6 separate regions of the Homo sapiens genome follow, and regions 2, 3, 4, 5 and 6 are each linked to region 1. Evidence: promoter capture Hi-C in 16 types of primary human blood cells and fetal thymus (Javierre and others, 2016). All regions are on one chromosome and are shown on one strand. The core of a region is centred on a gene start or on the middle of the fragment in contact, and the rest is flanking DNA. Distances in the headings are between cores, read along the strand shown. Region 1 holds the start of ECRG4 (ECRG4 augurin precursor). Region 2 has its middle 63 kb from the start of NCK2. Region 3 has its middle 47 kb from the start of NCK2. Region 4 has its middle 25 kb from the start of NCK2. Region 5 overlaps NCK2 (NCK adaptor protein 2). Region 6 overlaps NCK2 (NCK adaptor protein 2).

What was found. Contacts are between HindIII fragments. The CHiCAGO score rates a contact against its expected background, and 5 or more counts as called.
Region 2: a contact is called between a fragment that was not itself captured here and the fragment with the promoter of ECRG4 in region 1, in 5 of 17 cell types (naive CD8 T cells, naive CD4 T cells, activated CD4 T cells and 2 more). The highest score is 6.9, in naive CD8 T cells.
Region 3: a fragment that was not itself captured here is called in contact with the fragment with the promoter of ECRG4 in region 1 in 5 of 17 cell types (naive CD8 T cells, non-activated CD4 T cells, activated CD4 T cells and 2 more); the score reaches 6.0 in naive CD8 T cells.
Region 4: a fragment that was not itself captured here is called in contact with the fragment with the promoter of ECRG4 in region 1 in 7 of 17 cell types (non-activated CD4 T cells, naive CD4 T cells, total CD8 T cells and 4 more); the score reaches 9.8 in non-activated CD4 T cells.
Region 5: a fragment that was not itself captured here is called in contact with the fragment with the promoter of ECRG4 in region 1 in 11 of 17 cell types (non-activated CD4 T cells, naive CD4 T cells, activated CD4 T cells and 8 more); the score reaches 20.4 in non-activated CD4 T cells.
Region 6: a fragment that was not itself captured here is called in contact with the fragment with the promoter of ECRG4 in region 1 in 7 of 17 cell types (non-activated CD4 T cells, naive CD4 T cells, total CD8 T cells and 4 more); the score reaches 11.8 in non-activated CD4 T cells.

Annotation. Positions count from the first base shown.
Region 1 is chr2:106,064,310-106,067,084 of GRCh38, forward strand. ECRG4 (ECRG4 augurin precursor) reads left to right here and starts at 1,379. Exons shown (of 4, transcript NM_032411.3): 1 at 1,379-1,534. The coding sequence starts at 1,456. The HindIII fragment of the contact is 9,592 bases long and covers 1-2,302 here.
Region 2 is chr2:105,680,390-105,683,164 of GRCh38, forward strand. No RefSeq gene overlaps it. Among named protein-coding and RNA genes, the nearest start is that of NCK2, 63 kb to the right of the region's middle. The HindIII fragment of the contact is 1,522 bases long and covers 606-2,127 here.
Region 3 is chr2:105,696,698-105,699,472 of GRCh38, forward strand. No RefSeq gene overlaps it. Among named protein-coding and RNA genes, the nearest start is that of NCK2, 47 kb to the right of the region's middle. RefSeq lists a silencer at 2,131-2,310. The HindIII fragment of the contact is 2,357 bases long and covers 157-2,513 here.
Region 4 is chr2:105,718,847-105,721,621 of GRCh38, forward strand. No RefSeq gene overlaps it. Among named protein-coding and RNA genes, the nearest start is that of NCK2, 25 kb to the right of the region's middle. The HindIII fragment of the contact is 6,677 bases long and covers 1-2,775 here.
Region 5 is chr2:105,759,194-105,761,968 of GRCh38, forward strand. The region is part of intron 1 of NCK2 (NCK adaptor protein 2); the gene reads left to right. Among named protein-coding and RNA genes, the nearest start is that of NCK2, 16 kb to the left of the region's middle. RefSeq lists an enhancer at 1,859-1,938. The HindIII fragment of the contact is 3,292 bases long and covers 1-2,775 here.
Region 6 is chr2:105,802,656-105,805,430 of GRCh38, forward strand. All of the region lies in intron 1 of NCK2 (NCK adaptor protein 2), which reads left to right. Among named protein-coding and RNA genes, the nearest start is that of NCK2, 59 kb to the left of the region's middle. RefSeq lists enhancers at 61-350, 704-753. The HindIII fragment of the contact is 379 bases long and covers 1,145-1,523 here.

The sequences.
Region 1 (2,775 bases), core at 129-2,628:
CTGCTGGAGAAATTCAACTGCATTGCATGGAGAGCTAATTATATGGAGAGACAGTAAGTGCTTACCACTGGAGGGTATAAAAATACTGGCCGGTGTGGTGGCTCACACCTGTAATCCTAACACTTTGGGAGGCCGATGCGGGTGAATCATTTGAGTTCAGGAGTTCAAGACCAGCCTGGCCAACATGGTAAAATCCCTTCTCTACTAAAAATACAAAATTAGCTGGGCCTCGTGGCACATGCCTTGTAATCCCAGCTACTCAGGAGGCTGAGGCAGGAGAATCGCTTGAACCCCGGAGTTGGAGGTTGCAGTGACTGAGATCCCATCACTGCACTCCAGCCTGGGCAACAAGAGTGAAACTCCGTCTCAGGGAGGGGAAAATAAGTGAGAACCTTGGTGAAGGAAAGAGGTAATCAGCTCAGTTCAGGGCAGATCTGAGATGGGAAGACAGGAAAGGTAATCTCACATCTCCATCCTTTTGTAGCCCAGGCCTGGAGAGAATAATTAGGTGACCCGCTCAGAGTCCGTTGGGATAAAGTTGTTCTAGTTTTTGTTCACTACGCCTCCTTTCACGTGTCCTCTACAGTTGAACAGGCCAGTTACTGGGATGCAGTTCTGCGTTTCCCTTGGGTCTCACCTTAACATCGCTCGCTGAAGTGTGCCCAGATTACAGAGCGGGCAAAGGGAAGCAGTGGTTTTGCTCACAGCTGCAGGGCACCAGGTTCCTGGTTTCTCAAAGGCTTTTCTATTGGAGAAGTTTGGGTGAGACGATTTCCCGGACTGCAGCTCTGAACCCAGACTGTGGAATCTTTCAAACTATCTCAAAAACAGCCCCGCCTAAGGCATCCTTAAGAGCAGCTCTGAACTAAGGAAATTCCAAAGCCCACTTTACAAACCAGGCAGAAGCAAGGCCCCCAAGCAGGGAGGGAGGGAGATAGGGAAGAAAGGGGTGAGGAGTAAGGGGAACAGTGGCGCGGCTGGGGCGGGCGGAGGAAGTGGGGGAGCCAAGGAGACACCCCAGCGCTGGGATCCGGCAAGTCCTCCCTCTGAGTGGCCAGGGGGCCTCGTCCCTTCTCCCGATGCCTTCTGCCCTTCCTTGGGTCTCCGGAACCCAGCTTGTCCTAACCGCTTTCGCTGCGGGCAGCGCTGGCCACGCGGCCCCCGCCGCCGGCGGTTCTCCGTGGCCAAGCATCCTTGGCCTTGGAGCCCAGGGGCTGCGTTCCCCTTGGGGCCGGGGCGGGAGAGAGGACCTCGGTGGTACTCGCCCGTGCGCTGGGCGCAGCCGCTTGGCCCTCAGCCCTCTGGCGCGGCGCCCACCCGCTGGGTCCCGCCCCGGCAGCGACGCAGGGATAACCCGCGGCCGCGCCTGCCCGCTCGCACCCCTCTCCCGCGCCCGGTTCTCCCTCGCAGCACCTCGAAGTGCGCCCCTCGCCCTCCTGCTCGCGCCCCGCCGCCATGGCTGCCTCCCCCGCGCGGCCTGCTGTCCTGGCCCTGACCGGGCTGGCGCTGCTCCTGCTCCTGTGCTGGGGCCCAGGTGAGCGGGGCGATGCCAGGCTGATTGATAGCGGCACCAGGGGTTGGCCCCATGTGGCGCTTCCATGGTGCCCGGGGAGAGCGATCGGTGATGGGGTGGCGGCGTAGGGACCCATCCTTAGCCTAGGCAGGGCCAAGGGGTGGTAGAGGACCGGGTCTGGGGTTTTGCACTCGCACAAGTGCGAAGTGGTGCCCTTGTGAGGGTGGAGAGAGTACCGGGGTCAAGGGGAGGGTCTCAGATCTCCCGGGCAACCTTGGGCAAGGAGGGCCAGGCGTCCGAAGGGTGGGCAAGTAGTGTTTCGTGGCTTAACGTAAGGGGCAAAAGGGTTGTGGGGGCTTTACGCAGCTGGTAACCCAGAGGAGGCAAATGGCACCATCACCGCCATTCCCTTCCAGGCAGTCGCTTAGCAACCAAGTTGACTTGCGCTTCCCAGCTGGGTCAAGTTGCAATTTGCAAAGCTGGGCACAGGCCTCACACCCCAGAGAGGGGAAAGGCTCTTAAAGGAGTAATGCTTAATCTTTCCTGCTTCGTGGAGCTCCCAGCGAATCGGTTGAAAACTCTGAAATTCTCTGCTCGCTCTCTGTAAAACGTGCATTCACACGCACACCCAGAATGATGGGTGCTCCGATATCTGATCGCTGGGCTCCACAGGCCCCACTTTAGGAACCATAATCTGAAGCCGTGGTTTGTCCTGAGTTACCACCTTCACTGGGTAGGAGGAACATTTATGGTTCACAAGTGGCCTCAAGGACACATGACTGCCTTTGAAGCTTACAACTAGGGGAGGCAGGGATTGTTACCTCAGAGTTACTGGTGTATGAAGTGACTTGCCCAAGAGCCTGAGACTGGCGCTGTCCCACTGCAAAGCAGCTGGGCACTGCCTAATGTAAAAGGGAGGCTCACTCGGTTGCTCAGTTTCTGTATTTTGCTCATTCGAAACAGGTATGGAAACTGAACTCGAGGTGAGAAGAGGCAGGGGACATTCAGTAGGAGCCCTGGGATGGAGCCCCGGGGTTGCTAAAACAGCAGGAGGCGTGGTGAGGTCTGTTCAGGTGGGGAGGATTATTGTTCCACCTTAGAATCACAGGCGAAGCTAATCAGTCATTTCCCGTTGTATGGTTTACCTGCCTCCCACTCTTTGTTCTTGCCACTTTAAGAAGCACATCTGGGCCGGCCTTGGTGGTTCATACCTGTAATCCCAGCACTTTGGGAGGCCGGGGGGGGGGGGGGGGCAGATCACC
Region 2 (2,775 bases), core at 117-2,616, 380 kb before region 1:
AAGCAGTAAGGGAGATTAGGGACTGTTGGGTGGTGCAATTTTAAATAAGATGGCCAGGAAAGTCCTAGCAGGAAGGCAACCCTGGAGCAGAATCCTGCAGGCAGTGAGGGACTTGCAGGTATCAAAGGGCAGAGCATTGCCAAGACCGGGAAGAGCAAGTGCAGAGACTCTGGGTGGAGCTGCCTGGTCAGTTCTGGGCAAGCAAGGACATCAGTGTGGGCGGAGTATGGGGAGCAGAGATGAGAGCTTAGGAAATGGGTCAAGTGGAAACAGGAGACCTGATTAGTAGGGTCTTGTAGGGCCTGAGGAGGACGCTGCCTTCGTACTTTGAGTGAAGAGACGTCATTGCAAGACTTGGAGTGAAGAGACGTCATTGCAAGACTTGAGCAGAGCAGTGGCCTGCTCCACTGCAGGATTTAAAGAGAGTACCTGCACTGAGACTGTACTATAGGGAAGAAGGGTGAAAGCCAGGAGACCCCTTAGGAAGCTAATGCAGGATGGTGCTTGGAGCAGGGTGTAGCTGGAGAGGTCACCAAAAGTGGCCCCATTGTGGTTGTATTTTGGAGGACAGTTGCTTTAGGATATGCATTAGAAAATGCGTGAGAAGCTTACTGGCTCAGTGAGCCCTGTTCTTGCTAATGGGCAGGGGAAATTGAGGCTGGGGTTGAGAACATCCACTGGGCTTTAGGAGACCTGGGGTCCAGTCCCAGTTCAGCTCTTACCAAAGATTTTGGTGACATGATTTGAGTCAAAACCATTGATTGCTTTGAATTTCAGTTTTCTCATCTACAAGATGATAGAGGTCACTTGGACTTCAAAAACCCCATGGTTCTTTCTCATTAGTAGCCTCACGAATAAGGCCAAAGCAGCCTTTGGAATGTGTCACTGCTACTAGGATTATCTGCAATGGCAGAACACCACTGTCCCTACAGCCTTCCAGAGCAACTCTACACCACTAAATTGGAAAACCTAGAAGAAACTGATAAATTCCTATAAACATACACCCTATCAAGATTGAAACATGAAGAAATACAAAACCTGAATAGACCAATGACAAGTAACAAGATATAATAGAAGCAGCAATGAAAAGTTTGTAGGGGCCGGGAGCAGTGGCTCATGCCTGCAATCCCAGTACTTTGGAAGGCCAAAGCGGGCAGATCACTTGAGGCCAGGAGTTACAGACAAGCCTGGCCAACATGATGAAATCCAGTCTTTACTACAAATGCCAAAGGGAAAAATAATTAGCTTGGCGTGGTGGTGCATGCCTGTAATCCCAGCTACTCGGGAGGTTGAGGCACCAGAATCATTTGAACCTGGAAGGTGGAGGTTGCGGTAAGCCAAGAACACCCACTGCACTCCACCCTGGGCAATAGAGCAAGACTCTGTCTCAAAAAAAAAAAAAAGTGTATAGAGGTAAAACATTAGCCATACAAAGCCCACATTTAGTCTTAGCTATTTTTAAAAACTCCGGTTTTGGGGAAGGTAAAGAACTAGAGAAGAGACAAAGGGAATATGGGTGTAGTGGCCCCCGAATACCATGTCTTCTTGGGAGACAGGAGGTCACATCTGTGGTGGATGGGACAAGAAATTGAGATTGAAGAATGTTTGTTGACATGCAAAGGCTACCAACAGAAAAAAGGAATAGAGGGAGAACCCTCTGCGGAGAGAGTGGAGGGAAACAGGTTGTGGTGTAGGTGAGCAAAATTCTTGTGGGTTGATAAACAAAGAAATCTATGTCAAAGTCTATGATTGAGAGGTATGTTGGTGGCCACATGGGTAACCACAACCAGAACAGGTCAAAGTGATTGTCTCTGGGGAGTGGGCTGGGCCCTGGGCTTTTCCAAACCTACACAGAGCTCTGAGAGCTGTGAAGAATGAAAAAGAGATAACCCGGCTAACATCCATGAGTGCTCACTGGCTGCCAGGAATGGTGCTGTGTACTGTCCACGGCATTACATCCTGATGAACCCATCATAAATTGAAAATATTGTAAGTCAAAAATGCATGTCATACACCTAACCTACTGAACATCATAGCTTAGCCTAGCCTACCTTAAACATGCTCAGAAAACTTACGTTAACCTACAGTCAGGCCAAATCATCTAACACAAAGCCTATTTTGTAATAAAGCTTTGCATATCTCATGTACCTTATTGAATACAGTACACTGTAGAGCACAGCATCGGTGGTTTGCCCTTGTGATCGCTTGGCTGGCTGGGAGCTGTGGCTTGCTGCCGCTGCTCAGCAGTGTGAGAGGGCATTGTATTGCACAGAGTAGCCCAGGAAAAGATCAAATTGCAAAGTTTCTACTGAGTGCATATCACTGCCGCACCATCACAAAGTTGAAAAATCATGTCAGCGACCATCTGTATTCACTTACTTCATCCTTTTCCAACCCTATGAGGTAGATATTACAGACCCACACTCCCTTTTTGGAAACTCTTACGGGCAAGATAGGTTTCAGAATGCAGAATTTTTCCAATTTTAGAGTGGAAACAGGATGCATATATTGTATGTTACCCAAGCCCCGCAGCAGAGTGTGGGGCAGCACTTCAGCCACACATAATAGATGGGGATTGAAACATATGGTATTTGTAGTCACTGGGATAAATAAAGAGAATAAATAGCCTCTCACTTGATCCTGTGAGGTTTTTCCTGCAGACTCTTAGTTTCCAAACTCTTTAGATTTCAAAATCATGAAACTGTGCCCCAAAGCATTAAAGAAACTGATGACTAACAGAAATTCTGAAGCTTCTTTTATAGGGAAGTAGATAGG
Region 3 (2,775 bases), core at 85-2,584, 370 kb before region 1:
TGAATATATCCTGTAAGTGATTTCTTCTCGGTGATACCCTCCTATTTCAATTATTTAGGAAGCTAAGTAATATGCAACTGCAGCCTGAGGCTCCTGCTGTTTTATTAAACACCGGGACTTGTTATCCTGTAGTGTTATTCCGAACTCCAGTGAATAAGCTTTTCTAAATATTTTTCAAGTCAAAGAATAGACTCTTAGAAAGATTGAGGGGGTCTTAGCCAGACTGGGTGGCTTAAGCAACAGAAGTTTATTGTCTCACAGTTCTGGAAGCTAGAAGTCCGAGACCAAGATGGTGACAGAGTTGTTTTCTTCTGAGGCCCCCTGTGCCTTCACATGGTCTTCCCTCTGTGTCTTAATCTCCTCTTCTTATAAGGACACCAGTCACATTGGATTAGGACCCATGCAAAAGACCATGTTGTAACTTAATTACCTCTTTAAAGACCTTAATTCAAACAAGTTTACATTCTAAGTTACTAGGAGTTCCCAGGGCTTCAACATATGAATTTGGCATGGGAAAGGGAACACAATTCAGTCCCTAACAGAGGGTCACCTAACCTGGTCATTGCTCTAGTGCCCTTGCAGGAATGCCTTCCAAAATATCAGTCATAAAAGTAGCTGCCAGACATCTGCTTGGGTCCTTAAAAAGATGAGGAGTTCACCATTTCATAAGACAGCCCTTTCCTTTGCTGGGCAACTTTGAGTGTTGGAGTTTTTGCACATGTTGATCGAAAACAAGGATCTGTATAATATTCCCTTTTAGTTTGGTTCTTACTCCAAGAAGAGCATTGGGAGTTCTTCCCTCTCTTCTACATGTTAGCTCTTCCTTTATGAATAGACTTCACCAGCCCATTTCAGGCAAAAGAAGATGCCTTGATTGGATCCCCAACCGCAGGCACTCAGTTCTGATAATCTGATTCCCCAATTCATAGATGCTCATTACTGAAAAGCCTACAGAGGAGTTTTTCTCATTCAAAAGTGGAGAGACACATTGCTGGACCAGAATTCTCCTCCCAACACTGCATTTTCCCAGGGTGGCTTCAGTTGGAAAAGACCCCCCTCCCACACATCCCTTAAGGAACCATCCATTCCTGAGTCCCACGCAGGAATCCAGAATCGACATGCCCCTGTGTGTTCGCCAACATTTTCCTAGTGCTTTCATGTTGATGAGAGTTGAATCAATCCCATAAACCTTGGTTAATTCCCTTAGCGACTGGAAGAATAATTAACAGACAGGGCTTTGTTCTTCAGAATAGAGTATCTGCAGCAAGCTCAAACTGCACAGGCAGGCCAAGGTCACGGCAGCTGCCAGCAGATCGCCCACACTCCCAGCCATCATTATCAGCCCTGGGGAGAGCCTCTGACCTGGCAGAGCAGCGCCAAGGCTGGCGTGCATGCAGGAAATCTCCTGCTTCCTCCTGGCCTTAACCAACCTACATACCAATATTTTCCCTCACTTACATTAATTTTAATATCATGACAGTTTAAACATGTTAAAAGCATGGCTCTAATCACAATCCCACTCAAAAGCCTCCAGCGGTTTACCATTGCCTATTGAATTTAGGCAAAACTTCCAACCGTGCCTTTAGTGTTGTGCTGGTTATAATCCATTTGCCTCCCTCCACCCCACCCCATACTCATCCCAGGGCTCTAGGAGGCTGATCTCTGAGGGCAGAATTGCCTGGGCTTTCTCCCCTGTGGCTTCTGGTTGGGCTCAACCAACTGGAAGAAGCAACAAGAGATTGATGGACAAGAAGAGAAAGAGGTGGCGTTTGTCTTGCCCACAACTTCCCTGCTCAGTGCTACTGAGCAGTGACTGGATCCCCTCAAGAGCACAGCCCTGCTGGCTGGCCCCTCCTCCAGGGTTCTGCCCCTTCCTTCCCCAGATCTAGGGGTGAGGGGCTGCTCCCTATTGACACTGTCCCGATGCCTTATTATCTCTTGAGTCCCTTAATGCTGACCACAACCTCTGAATCACCAGTCTCTTGACCTGACTTTTCCTTCTAGAACAAAATGAGGATAAATGCCCCCAGGTAAATGAACCCAATCCACTTCTCCATTCTGCTCTCTGATCTTCCTAACTCGTAGCCTGAACCTCAGTTACACTTTTCTACCCGCTGTACCAAAAGTCATAAGTCTTTCAACTCTGACTGCAGAATAGAATAACTTGAAAAAAAATTAAATATCACTGTCTCAACCCCAGCCTCTGAGATTCTGACTCAGTGGACCTGGAGTGGGGAAGAACTGCATGACTGTGCACCAGCAGAGCCCGTGCCAATGGCAAGGATCTGGCTGGGCAGGGGAAGCCCCCAGCACAGGCATGGCTTGTTTAAAGCACTCCAGGTGATTCCCATATACAGCCACGACTGAGGGCCACTGTCCTATAGATCAGGTTCCCTGCCACTTTGCATTAGCACATGATTTGCCTCCTCTGTGGAATACATCCATCTGTCCTGCCCATCAGCATGTCATGCAGTCCCACCTTCAAAGCCCATCTCAGATGAGCCTTTGCATGAAGCTTTTTAAGTCTGCCCTCAACCCCATCCCAACCAGGTCCACATGTCTGTCCTTTGAAGACCAGTGGCTGTGGGATTTTTTTTCCTCTTTACTTTATATGAGAGTTGGTGACCCAGGCAGCTTTTTCACACAACGGTCTCCAATGATGCTATAGGCATGTACAAGTGAAAGACCTGAGTCCTCTCATCCAACTTCCCACTCAGTGCAGGAAGCGCAGGCTAGGGCGATACTAGGTCAAGTGTCTCTGGTGCCACAGACTTG
Region 4 (2,775 bases), core at 150-2,649, 350 kb before region 1:
GCTCAGAGAAATGGGAATCCATGTTCACTTTAACACTCTTCAGTGAAGACTAGTTTGTGAGGACTTTATCGACAGGTCTCCTCACTTAGGGATGCATCAAGCTCCAGGTGGCTGGAATGAGAGACAGGCAGAAAAGAGCCCTGAAGGACAAGGTCTGGGGAACCTGGATGTCCTCAGGAAGGCTTTCTGACTGTGTCCCTCCCTCAAGCAGAGGAAGCAGCTCAGACACGAGAGCTGTGGGCCAGCAGGGTGACCCCCACGTGGACTGAATAATTTTCACAATGGCAACTCAGAAGATAATTTCCAGGCTGGATACATCACAGCTCCTGTAACTTCCTGCCCCTCCCACTGCCTAAATTAGAAGGGTGCCCAGCGCTGCTCCAGAGCCTATAGATGACTGTGCCAGAGTATTCCCGTGGTTTCTAGCATAACACCGCCAACGTGATCAGCTCTTTAAGACAGCACAAAAAAAGGAAGGGGTGGTCACCCTGAGCACTTCTCTTCCTCCACCTGCTGCAGAATAGTTCCTATCTCTGCTCAAATAAGTGGATGAAGTTGGGCAGATGTAAAACTGATATGGCACAGTGGAGGCCCATGAGACAGGGTGACAGAGGGGCTAAGAGGAGAGTCGGAGGAGGAAGAAGGGGGTCTTCACCTACTTTAGATTTCATTTGAAATTTTAGAAAATTTAAGCAGCTAAACACAGAACCTTACATTAAATGAATATAATACTTATTAAAATCCTGGCCGGGCACAGTGGCTCATGCCTGTAATCCTAGCACTTTGGGAGGCCAAGGTGGGTGGATCACCTGAGGTCGGAAGTTTGAGACCAGCCTGGCCAATATAGGGGAACCCCATCTCTACTAAAAATACAAAAATTAGCTGGAAGTGGTGGCGGGTGCCTGTAATCCCAGCTACTCAGGAGGCTGAGGCAGGAGAATTGCTTGAACCCGGGAGGCGGACTTCACAGTGAGCCGAGCTCGCACCACTGTATTCCAGCCTGGGCAGCAAGAGTGAAACTCTGTTTCAAAAATAAAATAAAATAAAATCCTGAGGGAGGAATACAGTCGTCCCTACGTATACTCAAGGGGTTGGTTCCAGCTTCCCTGAATATAACAAACTCAGTGCACTCTCAGGTTCCACAGATGGTCCCGTGGAACCTACCTTAAGGAAGGGTCGGCCCTCCCTCTGCATTATGTGGGTTTCACATTTCCGTGGATATTGTATTTTCTATCTGGGTTTGATTGAAAAATATCCAGATATAAGTGGACCCGTGTAGCTGAAACCTGTGTCATTCAAGAGTCAACTGTAGTTTCCTCAGCACAGAAGTAACACAGTAAATCATAAAAGAAAAATTTGACCATATAAATATTTAGCACTTTCCATGGAAAACCCAAGGCAAGAAAGCAAAGGATAGACTGGGATGAATGATAGAAAATTGCTCAACATATTTATTAAATAAAAAGAGGTCATATGAGAGCAGAAGAACATTGTAAACTTGACAGCTAAATCCCAAAGAATACAAGCAGATCATTCATGGGCAGGAAAATAGAACTAATCATCAAAATATGGGGAAAAACTCAGTGATTCTCACTTGTAATCACTGTTAGGTAAATAAAAACAACAAGGTGGCAACATTCTTTACTTTTAAAATTGAATTAACATTACGTATACATTACCCACTTCTAATCACAGTGTAGTGAAATCTGTACATTCATTGTGACTGTGTTGTGTGTTTTTTAAAGGAACTTGGAAATGTGTATAGCTTTTAAAAAATCATTTCCGTGGTCCAATAATCCCACTTATAAAATTCTAGTATAAGGGAATGTTCCCAAACATGGAAAAACATATATACAGGAAGATGATTACAAAAGAAGTTACGTGAAAACGTTAGAAAAAATGTCCAGCAGCTGGACTCTGGTATAGTCACTTAGTGGCACATTGTACACAGCAAGCAGTCATTATAACAATTAGAATGTAACATGAGAAAATATTGTTGAGTGAAACAAGTGGTGAGAAATTCTATGCAAGATAAGTGCAATGTCTTAGTCCTTTGGGGCTGCTGTAACAGAAATGCCATAAACTAGCTGGCTTAAAACAATAAACATTTATATCTCACAGTTCTGGAGCCACTGACAAATTCGGTGCCTGGTGGGGGCCCATTCCTCATAGATGGTGCCTTCTCCCTGTGTGCTCACAGGGCAGAAGGGAGAAGAAATGCACTCCTGAGCTTCTTTTATAAGGGCACTGATCCCATTCATGAGGGTTCTACCCTCATGACCTAATCACTTCACAAAGGCCCACTTCCTAACACCATCACTTTAGAGATTAGGTTTTAATACAGGAATTTTACACGGACACAGACCATGGCACATAATGGACCATGAATGTAACATGTGTTTGGAAAAAAAGACTCAAAATGAATATGCCTGTAATCCCAGCCCTTTGGGAGGCTGAGGTGGGCGGATCACCTGAGGTCAGGAGTTCAAGACCAGCCTGGTGAAACTGGTGAAACCCTGTCTCTACTAAAAATGCAAAAAAATTAGTCGAGCATAGTGACACATGCCTACAGTCCCAGCTACTCGGGAAGCTGAGGCAGGAGAATCACTTAAACCCAGGAGGCGGAGGTTGCAGTGAGCCAAGAGTGTGTCATTGCACTCCAGCTGAGGCGACAAGAGCAAAACTCTGTCAAAAAAAAGAAAGAAAGAAAGAAAGAAAGAAAGAAAGAAAGAAAGAAAGAAAGACAGACATATGCCAAAAAGATAGTAGTGGCTG
Region 5 (2,775 bases), core at 73-2,572, 310 kb before region 1:
TTATTTGGTCTTATTCAAGGGAGCAAGATTTTTTGTTTGTTTATAAACACATGCAGTATATCGTTTTACGTATTCAAGTACACATAGTACGTTCTCTGGGGAAAGCAGAAAATTGTATTGCATTTCAGCCATGTAATACCCTCACGTTCGTGTATTAAGCTGATCAATAGGGGTATTTATTTCCTTTTGTTGAGCACAGTGTTTTAACGTTTCCAAAGTGTAATTTGTTATTGTTGAAAGTCAACCATGTTACCCTATGCATACAGGCTTTTATATAATAAAACATATGGTATATATTTTTAAGTAAGCGCTTAATTTTAGAATAGATTTTAAATTTACAGAAAAAGTTTCAAAGATAATACAGAGAATTCTGATATAAACTGTGTCTACTTTCCCCTGTGATTCACATCTTACGTTACTATAGTACATTGGTTACATCTAATGAACCAGTATTGGTACATTATTGTTAAGTCCATAGTTTATTTGCCCTGACATCCTTTTTCTGTCCCAGGATCCCATCCAGGGCACGTTTCCTTTAGTCTCCGTAGCGCCTCTGATCTGGGACAGTTTCTTAGACTCGCCTTGTTTTTAATGGCTTGACAGCTTTGAGGAGCAAAACTGCTTTTCAGGTGTTTTGTAGACTGTCCCTCAGTTGAGAGTTGTCAGATGTTTTTTCATGATTAGTGTAGAGTTACCGGTTTGGGGAGGAAGGCCACCGAGGTAATGTGCCATTTTGTATCAAGGGTCCATGTGATCAGCGTGGCTTATGATGGTTGATGTTGATCTTGATCACCTGGCCCAGGTAGTGTTTGTCAGGGGACTCCACTGTCAAGTGACTCCACTGTCAAGTGACTCTTTTCCCTTCTTTCCATACTGCTGCAGTCTTTGGAAGGAGGTCATTTAAGGAAGAGGGAGTTCAGCTGTACCTCCTGTAGGGGTTGTATTTACATTAGTTATTTAGAATTCTATCTGACAGATTTATCTATTCTCCCAAAAGGGACCAAGATTTTCAGTGGGGATAGAAGGCACTGTGGCACAGACAGCCCCTTGGCACTGTTGCGGAGGAGGTGATAGGATAGGATGGTGCCCCAGCATGGGGTTTCCAGAATGTGGTCCTGGGCTGTGGAGAAATGCAAATTCCGGGGAACTGCCTGACTTCCCGCGTGGGATAGGTTGGTCTGGAATTCTTCCTGTTGCACGAGTTCCCCAGGTGATTCTGATGCATATTCAAAGTTGAGAGCCTCTGCTGTGGATTAGCACTTGAACCCCAGGTGTGCCGGCCAGGAGTCAGGCCCTCACCTCCATCCTTGCCGTTCACACCTCTTCCCTGCTGGTGGCACCTAGCTCTAAGGCTCCCCGTGTAACCACTTCTCCCACAGTTTTGACCACCTCTTGGATCTCTCCATCTGAGGCTCCCTTTGTATCAACCAAGGGTCTTTGCTTTCTGGATAACTTCATCCTTCTTTTGGTGGGCCCAGAGTTCCAGTGAAGGGAGAAACCAGTTACAGCTGAGAACCCTATTGTGGAAAGGCCAGTCAGGGCCAGAGTAGGGAGGTCCCTAGATGCCAGGCTTCTCTGAAAATGGTTTTGTCACATGTGAGAGAGAGAGAGAGGCAGAGACACCGAGACCCCACGTGGACTGTGTTCAGGTTTGAGCAAATAAAAAATCACCGAAAAATCTTCATAGTTTCTACATGTGTCATGCCTTGCGCTTTGGGACACCCCTAGCTCTTGGGCACATTCCCTGGTTGAAGTGGGAGGGCAGTGGCCTGAAGAAGTTTCTTTGGGATTGGGATCTGGGTGGCCCTCATCCTGCTTCCGCCTGAGGAAGCCCTGGTCTGTGACTGGGCTCAGGAAGTGGTCCCGACCCAGTGTCTGAGGAAGGCATTCTCCTCTCATAGATGGGGGCCAGAGTCTGCTGTGAGGCCATGCTGGTGTGCCTGCCCGCCCACCCTACTGGGCCTCTTCTGGGCAGCAGGGTTGTGCCCTACCCGGGTGCTGGGAGGTTTGGGTGTGTATGGGAGCGGTGGTATGGACGGGGCAGGCGTTGGCTCAGAAGCTGGCGTGGGGAGGGTCTTGAAGTGGTCATTTTAACTCCTGGCTGACTGACTTCCAGAGAATCTTTTTTTGGGAGGGAGAAGAGTGGCTCACCTTTCTCTTGGGTACAGAAAAAGTCAGAATTAAGGCCATTAGCCTGTTTCTCTTTCTGGTCACTGCCTTCTCCCTCCTAGTGATGGGACGATTCCAGGCTTGGGTGGAAGGCCAGGTGGGGGGACACTACTTCCTGCTCCACCCTTCCCAAACCATTATACACAGATGAGAGAGACTCTGTTGTATTCATTCACATAGATATAATTTATAATAATGCATTTTGTTTATTAAAAAATGACTGGGCCAGGCAGAGTGGCTCATAGTGGCTCATGCCTGTAATCCCAGCACTTTGGGAGGCTCAGGTGGGAGGATTGCTTGAGCCCAGGAGTTCAAGACCAGCCTGGGCAACATGGCGAAACCCTGTCTCTACAAGAAATACAAAAAAATGAGCTGGGTATGGTGGCAAGTGCCTGTAGTCCCAGCTACTTAGGAGACTGAGGCAGGAGGATCACTTGAGCCTGGGAGGTCCAGGCTGCAGTGAGCCGTGATCAGGCCCCTGTACTCCAGCCTATATGACAGTGAGACCAAAAAAGACTGAATACAGACATGTGCGCTGACCCTTTTGAACATTATTTTCTTTTCAATCTCTGCCTCTGTGTTACAGTTTATGTTTTCTCTTTTGTC
Region 6 (2,775 bases), core at 84-2,583, 260 kb before region 1:
ACCACGAGGAAGGCACCATGCATGAGGGATCCGCCCTCGCGATGCAGACACCTCCCTTAAAGCCCCACCTCCAACACTGGGGATCAGATTTCAACATGAGAAGGAGTCAGATATTCAAACGGTAGCAACATCCTTGTTTGCCCCCATGTGTCACATACATGGGCCATGGATGATGACTGATCATCTGGAATTCCCCTTTTTTGTCGCTTGCCACCCAGTTGTCTGTTTCATCTGCTGCTTTCTCGGGGGTGAGGTGGTGTCAGTGATGTCTGTTGTGTGTATAGCACCAAGCACAGTGCTAGCAGGGGTTCAGTAAATACTTGTTGGATGAATTAACTTGAAGTCTTTCTAGAAGAGAGCAATATTGGGATGGTGAGGTTTAGCAAACCTTGTTGTCATTTTTCAAATTGATGGTTTTCCTTAGAGAAGAGATTATAGTTCCCCTAGCTTTGAAGGTCAGTCTTGGGAAAGCAAGGTTAGGCTTATTTTCTACTGTATCACAAATTAGTTTTTATCTAAGATAGTTGTTAATATAAACATTTATTCTGCTTGTCTCCATCAAATTTTTAAATTCTAAGGCAGATATTTTAGATAGCACACATGTGTTTTAGAAGTTACCTAGAAAAGTTTAGCTGCTGTTTTTTATAGGCACGTTTTCTTGCAGCAGATATCATAAATAGGCACTGCTATGTAGTCTCCTATTTGACTTTGAACTCTAATTAGGCTGAGCTCCTTAAGAAGGGCCACTTCTGTGCTGTGCCTTATGTATGTACAGCATTTGCACACAGCAGTTGTGCAATACATTTTCATTGAATACGTGTGACTGATTTCATTCTACCAACAAGGTGACTGCTATTGTCTCCAAGGAAACCTAGTTTCTGAGGTTAATTAGCAGCCTTCAATTTCTACAGCTAGGAAAGTGCGGAACTGGCATTAGCATCCAGTTTCAAAGCAAGTCCTCATGCCCCTGCATCATGTGCAGAGACATTGCCAGCTTCACACCCAGGTTAGTCGTCTTTCACACTTGTGGTCCAGTTATGAGGGTTTAGAGAATAAGGCTTTCTGGAATTGGCTCTTCTTCAGTTTCTCTTATTTTCTCTAGAGTAGTGATTCTGAATGGGGCTGGGCCTCATAACCACCTAGAAGCTTTTATAAACTGCAGATGTTCTAATTAAGTAGGTCTCAGGTAGGGTCCGTTTGGAATGAATAGTCAGCCCAGAGTCTTTCTGTTTCTGGAATATGTGGTTAAAACAGTCCTGGTTCTGGCTGTTGCATGAAAGCTGAGGATACCATGTGCCTTGTGAGTTGTGAATCTGAGTCATGGATTGCAAGACAGAGGAGTAAATTAACACGTTGAGTGCATCTCTGCCATCCCTCTCCCTCTCAGTTAGGTTTTGGCTTTGCTTGCCCATTTTTTACGGGGCAAATTATATACATAGAGGCAGTGGCGACTCTCAGGATTTACTAATTTCAAGGGTGTACTCTGTAAGGGGTTGGTTGAGTAAAATTTTGAGTCTAGAGAAAGCTTGAGATGTTTTCTGGGCCTGTTTCCTCACTGCACAAAATTTCATTGTGAAGCTGAAGTTGATCATTTCAAAATGTGTGTAAATGAACGGACCAGCGCTTTTCTTTGATGTTTGCACTGGATGAGGATTATCTGAGAAGACCTGGTGGACGAGAAAATGGGTTTGACTTTTTGCCAGATGGTCACTGAATGTCTTTTCTGTCTTTGTGCCCAGTTAAAAGGCTAGGCATGTAGGTTTTCATGCTCTTGTCTGGTTTTGGCTTTGGAAATGCTTACACAGCTAATCTGGCATTTATGATGATTTCCACTTTGAGCTCAGCAGGAGGCTCTTTGGGGATATTCAGACAGAAATGGCTTAATTGGATTTCAGCCCAGACACAGTATTTGAATGGCTTTATGGATGGCATTAATTGGGCAGCTGCCATAGGAAGTCATATATATGCTCCTGAGCTTTAGAATTTAGAATTACTCTTTGATTCTGTCCCTCTTCATTGACTGCTTGCAAATTTATTTATTGAATGAAATACTCAAGAAAACTAAACTTATAGCCTTGAAATTAAGAAATATGATATGTAAGAACCATTGTTTGGTTTTGGCATAGGTATGTTATTATCTGTATTTAAGGCTCCACGTTGATATTCATGGCCTGGCCTAGAGGCACAGTGGTGTTAGGGATTCAGTGTGTCTTAGATTGCAAACTGGGGGACAAGGATTCAATCAGGGCCTAACATGGCACTAACTGCTGCAGGGTACTGGATAGTCACAGCTGATCTTATAGATGGAACTAAGGAAGTGGAAGTTTATTGAACCATAAATGGGGGAGAAGAGTCATTTTATCCAGAGCCTGCCATGGGCCTCCCCATATGGGTATCAGGACATGAAAAAGTTGCAGTCCCTTCCCAGAGGCTCTTCCTATCTGGACAGTTTTGTAAATGACAGTTGATATTATAAAATAGTGCTTTTTATGGGCACGGAGGCCGGTCTCCTAGAAGAGAGCACGTTTGAGTTCCTTCCTGAATGGTGAGTTGGATTTGATTGCACGATGGCATTGGGAAGCTGAGGTGCAAAGATGTTCCCAGTACGGGGAGGAAATAGCAGACGCGAGGGCAAAGAGTTATGAAAGGGTCCAGCGTTTGAGGAGAATGTGGATGAACATACCTTGACCATTTTAGGAATATTTAAAAACTAATTGTACTTTAAGAACTAAGTATTCTTAAAGCTAAACATACTTTAAAAACACAGTGATAGTA